Linked DNA regions of Homo sapiens: region 1 is linked to region 2. Evidence: promoter capture Hi-C in 16 types of primary human blood cells and fetal thymus (Javierre and others, 2016). All regions are on one chromosome and are shown on one strand. Each heading gives the region's core, a stretch centred on a gene start or on the middle of the fragment in contact. The rest is flanking DNA. Distances are from core to core; before and after follow the strand shown.

Region 1 (3,301 bases), core at 278-2,777, 1.4 Mb after region 2:
AAACGTGGTTGAAGCGAAATCTCTCCAGTGTTTGTGACATGGCAAAGCATGCTTCCCCCAACCCAAACAAAAACCTAACAAATGCAAAAACGAGCCTCCAGAGACAGAAAAAAGAAGGCAGCTAAAGTGAAAAAGCCACAAAAGATGTAGTGTTAGGATAAAAGAGGAAGGTTACTGACACTGGGGGAAATGAACTAAAGAGTATGAAAATAAAACATTTGTTTTCCCCTTAACTGAATGACGATTGAATCTTAGCTCATAGTGTAGAATATACCATCTGGAAAAGCAGAGTAAAACAGGATTAAACTTGCCCTACGACAAACATAAACGACATTTCCCTGTTTAAAGAGTCGAGGTATTTCTTAAAATCATAAAACAAAAAAATTAAGACTTAAGGATGAACTCATCTATGTATAATGCTCATTCACTTCCCCTTTATTTGTATACTTCTAGGGGTCTGGTGGTTCTAGCGACTGAAAATTCCTATCCAAATACCAATGACTTGAATCACATTTTCTAGGACTGCCACAAACAAAAGATTTATTTGGAGACGAATAAAAAGGGGCCGTAGGATTACCTACAAGAAGTTATTTCCTCCTGAGATTGATGGCACAACCTTGTCAGCAAATTGCTGTTGCCTCTCTCAGTTACCAAAAATAACCCGTAACAAACACCAGGCTTGGGTGTAAGTTCTTTCCTAAGGGAACAACTCAGCAGAGCTGTTTATAACTAGAGAGGAGGAAACAATAATCTGCAAGATGTCGCCAGGTCGGCAACGCGAACTGACTTTGACTGGGGGTTCAGCTCTGCTCCTGCGCCGAGGCGAGGACCGCAGGTTTAGCGCGGTCCCACACACACCTGCCCCGGGCGGGAGGGCACCGAGGCGCGCGGGACGCACGAGAGTCCCGCCCTTCCCGGGTCGCCCCCGACCCGGGCAGTCGGATAGGGTCCCGCACCCGGGCCCCACCTCACCTTCACGGGCGGAGGCGGCCTGGGGAGGCCCTCTAAGGCCCCCCTCACGCCCAGCGCGGCCGCCGCCCCGACCTCAGCGATGAGGTTGTGGCCGCAGGCGTGGCCGATGCCGGGCAGCGCGTCGTACTCGCAGAGGAAGCCCAGGTGCAGCGGGCGTGGCGTGGCGCTCGGTGCCCGGGCCTCCGGCGGCTCCCACTCGGCGCGGAAGGCCGTGGGCAGCTGGTAGTGCGGCTGCACTGCCCAGGAGGCCGCGGGCGGCTCCCGCTCGAAGAAGTGCGTCAGCACGCGGTGGGCATGGTGCTCCTCGTAGGCCAGCTCGGGCTGGCTCCAGATCGCGCGGCTCAGGGCCCCCAGCCGCTCGGCCGCCTCGTCGATGCACTCCGCCGAGCGCAGCTTCAGTAGCTCCAGCTCGGAGCGGCCATTGCACGCGCCCCCTTCCACGGGCCGCTCCCCTCCGGGCCTCATGCTGCCCAAGCCCGCTGCCCTCTGCGCCCTCTCGCTCCCTGGCTCGGCCGCAGGTAGCGACCGCCCGCGCACGCGCCCAGAGGCCTCCAGGACCCCGGCGGAGCGCGCACGCGGCCACACAGCTCCCAGGGCACCACCCCCAGTCCCGGGGCCGCCCCCGGCGCCGCGCGGGAAACGCTGGCGGCCGCTCGTACCCTACCAGGCGCTCTGCCCCGCCGTGGGGTTTTGGGGGTGCTGTGGAGAAGGCAGGGCTCGGGACTCTTCCACCTCCTTGGCTGCTCTGGCCTTTGAGTTATGCTCTAAGATTATCGATTACTTTTCCGTTGTTGCTTATTTCCCACAGCAGCAGAATGAGAACGGTTATTAGTTAATAGCCATCAGAGACAGACCAAGTGGAACACAGTCCTCGGAAAAACGCCACTCTGTAGCATTAGTAATTAAAACCTCACAAGGTTTGTATTTCCTGAAGGAGGCCGTCAGTGTCAATGCTGTACTAACGACGGTACTGTACGTAAGTTTCGGTACTGCCCCCACTTTCTTCTCCTTGACATTGTATTACTAAAAGCTGCAGCTACTCTCTACAGTTTTCTCATTGGTTACTAATGTCTGGAACAGCAGCTAGATTATGCAGTAAGCTCTTGGTATGTATTAGCTATTATATAATAATTTATTTGAATAGAGTAGAACTAAAAATTTGAAATGAGTTAAAACCAAAGAGTTAAAAGATTTATGGTAGTAAATATTCATACTGTTTTGTTGATTTGGACAGTTGTCTTGAACAGCTTTGAAAGGGAACATATGACAGGTTTCGTTTATAATTTTAATTGATGCTGAACTCCACTAACATGATATGTGCAGCTGGTGTTACATTATAACTGAGTTTTTTAATTACCCAGTGAAGAAATTCAAGATGTCATGCTCTTGTTTTTCTCCAGAGTGAACCACAAAGTCTGAAAAACTGTTGTTGACGGTATGCCTATTAATAACACTGTAGATGTTTATATTCTGAGGTTTTCCACATATTAAAAGCTTCTATCAGCTCTTCATACCCTATCATCTTTCCTTAATTTGTCTCAACTATGTTAAATGGGACACAATATATTAATGTGATAAACCAAATGAATATTTTGAAAATAAGTCTAAGGGAAGCTAACATGCACGAAGACTATCAACTACTGTTTTTACTACTCTATATGCTAATAATACCAGAGTAAATGTCACATTCCATTCACGTCTGAAAACTTTCTTTCTCAGTTAACACTCCAACAAAAACTCAGCTCTAAAAACAACAAATGTGTTATTAAATTCCTGGGCCCCCTTGGCGATAATAAATCTTTCTCTGGTATTCTGCTGAAGAAAATTACCCTGTATCCACGAGATCCAATATTATCCTGCTCAGTTAGTTGGCTAAAAAAAGGGGAGAAGGGGGGATTGGAGAGCAAAAGCAATAGGTGACATTTGTAGAGCAATTACTCTGTGCTAGGCACTGTTCCAAGGGCTTAGCATTTGTTAACTCATTTAATCCTCACAGCAAACTATGAGGTGGTTAATGTGGTTATTTATCTTCATTTTACAGATGTATGTCCAAGATTATAGAGCTAGTAAGTAGTGGACCCACTGTAGAACAGAAGCCAGAGTCAGCCTCCAGTGGCTGACTTTCAGCCACCATGGTCTATTGCTTGTGTAAACAGACATGCAAATTCATAAATGCATCTCCAGTTTATCTATTCAAATCAGAACCCACAACACTCATTTTGAATAAATTTTACTGCAGCAACTCTGCCTGCTGACATCAGTAGAACCCATGTTTGCCCTCCTCAGGCATCAATAAACAGCAACAGAAAAGGGATGCATATAATTTCAT
Region 2 (3,117 bases), core at 351-2,850:
TGAGGTCAGATCTTCTTTACTCAGCCTACTTAATCAAATGCTAATCTCTTCCAAGTACACCCTCGCCGACACACCCAGATATAATGTTTTGCCAGCTAGCTGGGTATACCTTAGCCAAATCAAGTTGACACAAAATTAACCATCACAGAGCTCAATCTGAATAAACATATGAATAATGAGCATTTGCTGGTTGCATACCCACCACCCATCAACCATTGCCTGCTTTGCTGTTCCTAAGAGTATTAAGATTTTCCTTCGGGTTAGCATCTCCTCCTCCTCCTTAGAGCCCATGTTTCCAGGAGCCCTCAATCTAAGTTAAACAACGTACAGTCATGCATTGCTTAACTACAGGGATAAGTTTTGAGAAGTGTGTTGATCGGCAATTCCACCATTATGTGAACATCATAGAGTGTACTTATACAAACATTATATACTTATATCATTACAAGATGACATAGCCTACTATACACCTAGGCTATATGGTATACCTAGGTATATAACAGCTATACCTGTTCCTAGGCTACAAGCTGTATAAACCATGTTACTATACTGAATACTGCAGGCAAATGTAACACAATGGTATTTGTGTATCTAAACATAGAAAAGGTACAGTAACGAAACAATATAAAAGATTTAAAAAAATGGTACACCTATATAGGGCACTCACCATAAATGGAGTTTGCAAGACTGGAAGTTACTCTGGGTGAGCCAGTGAGTGACTGGTGAGTGAATGCGAAGGCCTAGAACATTACTGTACACTACTGTAGACTTTATAAACACTGTACTCTTGGGTTACACTAAATTTATTTTTTAAAAGTTTTCTTCAACAATAAATTAACCTTAGCTTATTATAACTCTTTTACTTCATAAACTTTTAAATTTTTTAAAACTTTTTGACTCTTTTGTAATAACACTTAGCTTTAAAACACAAACACACTGAACAGCTGTACAAAAGTATTTTATTTGGATCCTTATTCTATACACTTTTTTCTGTTTATTTATTTTTTTATAGTTTTTAAACGTTTTGGCTAAAAAGTAAGACAAACATATGTTGGCCTAGGTCTACCTACACAGGGTCAGGATCATCAACATCACTATCTTCCACCTCCACATCTTGTCCCACCAGAAAGTCTTCAGGGGCAATAACACGCACGGAGCAGTCATCTCTTATGATAACAATGCCTTCTTCTGGAATACCTCCTGAAGGACCTGCCTGAGGCTGTTTTATAGTTTTTTTATGGAAGTAGGAGTACACTGTAAAATAACAATTAAAAAGTATAGTATAGTAATTATATAAACCAGTAACATAGTTGTTTATCATTATCAATATTATGCACTGCACATAATTGTATTATACTTTTGTATGACTAGCAGCATAAGTTTGTTTACACCAGTATCACCACAAACACGAGTAATGCACTATAAGTAATGTGTCATGCTATGACATTACTATGGCTACAATGTCACTAGCCAATAGGATTTTTTCAGCTTCATTATAATCATATAGGACCACTGTCACATATGAGGTCCATTGACCAAAAAATCGTTATGCAGCGCATGACTGTGTGTATCCTCAAGCATCCTGTTCCCCATCCCTCAAGGGTAAACTTACCAAGGGCTTTTGAAAAAGAATGTTTAACTGCTCTTCTGAGATGGCTACCAAGAGATGCTCTCGGTTGTACTTTGTGATGTGTCATGTGAAAAATGAAACTGCTAGTACATGCATTCTCAATGGAGGCAATAACACCTCCACAGGGGGCAAAAACTGGAGAGAGAAAAAATCTTACTCTTTTTACATAGAAAGCACAAATATACATACAATACATAAATAGATATACAGTGTATCTGAGGTATTAAAACTTTGAGGAGGGGCATTAAGATGTCTAAAAAGGCTCCTTAAAAGAACAATAATGAAAAAAAAGATTGAAAAACACTATTGTAGAATATAGCAAATACCACAAAAGGCAGAAGAGAATAATGGAAACTCAATTATTGATGTTATCATCAAGCCTATGATGGAAATATGGAACACTTGTCTGACATATATATGACCCAGAACATTAAAGTGGTGTTACTTTAGTCCCAGTTTCTGCTAAGCCTCCATTAAAATAGGTCCCAGATATCCCTACACCCAAAATGAGCCAAATAAGATCAGAATCTCATTTAGAACAAGCAAAGAGGTGGTGGGAAATGGATTTTGAAACCCTTGTCCTCTCAACCCCTGGAGAGTATAAAAGGGCCAAAATTGAAGACAGAGTTGGAAGTTAGAGAGTAGTTATTAGGGTGCTGACATGAGGGAGAATGGTGGAGGGTGCTCAAACTCGGAGGGACTTCAAGGAATTTACTTAAATAGTTTTGATATGTATCCGGAAACGTGTGGAGACACACAGACTGGTGACTGAAGTTGACATGAAATTCTGAGGTCAAGTTTCTATCCTTAATTCATGAAAGTTAAAGGAAATGCAAAGTCAAAATTGAAGTGAACTGAGAGAGGTTCAGCTCCCCTCCATCATTCCTCTGCATTTAAACTTTATTACTTAGGATTATTTGGTTACAAGTGACAAAAATACAACTTGGACCAGCTTAAATGAAATGGTAATTTACTAGCTCACATAACCAAATCACAGAATGTAAGAGATGGATTGGACCTTGGGAATGACTGAACCCAGAGACATAAACACTGATGAAACTTTCCATCTATTACTAGAAGCTAGGGAAAAGGCGCAGGCAGACAAAAAAGAAAAAAGTAATCTGCAAGCAAGTTGGACAAAAATTGATTTTAGACTGGCATCAATATTAGAAGTCCAAATCAGTGGATAAAACATAGAAGTGTTGGGGTAGAAGATATTCAAAATCATGTAATCAATTCACTTTGAAATGCATCTAGCAAAATGGTAGATGGATGTAAATATGGATGGAGAGATGAGATGCACATATGTATATTATGATAAAGCAAGTATAGTAAAATGTTAAAGGTAGAATCCTGGTGGTGGGCATATAGGTGTTCACCATAAATTCTTTCAACTTTTCTCTATATTTGACATTTTTGTAACAAAATTTTGGGGGGAAAAATCAAGCAGGAGAACTGCATCATGGCTGTGGTAATTAATTAGTCCT

Evidence for each region. Contacts are between HindIII fragments. The CHiCAGO score rates a contact against its expected background, and 5 or more counts as called.
Region 1: the fragment with the promoter of PM20D2 here is called in contact with a fragment that was not itself captured in region 2 in 6 of 17 cell types (activated CD4 T cells, naive CD8 T cells, non-activated CD4 T cells and 3 more); the score reaches 10.4 in activated CD4 T cells.

What each region holds. Positions count from the first base shown.
Region 1 is chr6:89,144,281-89,147,581 of GRCh38, reverse strand. It overlaps PM20D2 (peptidase M20 domain containing 2), which reads right to left and starts at 1,527. Exons shown (of 7, transcript NM_001010853.3): 1 at 973-1,527. The coding sequence starts at 1,437. It overlaps LOC101929004 (a long non-coding RNA gene), which reads left to right and starts at 716. Exons shown (of 4, transcript XR_942766.4): 1 at 716-1,889. RefSeq lists a silencer at 781-1,710. The HindIII fragment of the contact is 3,355 bases long and covers 1-2,468 here.
Region 2 is chr6:90,588,785-90,591,901 of GRCh38, reverse strand. LOC124901363 (a long non-coding RNA gene) reads right to left here. Exons shown (of 2, transcript XR_007059680.1): 2 at 943-1,254. Among named protein-coding and RNA genes, the nearest start is that of MAP3K7, 3.3 kb to the right of the region's middle. The HindIII fragment of the contact is 5,597 bases long and covers 1-3,117 here.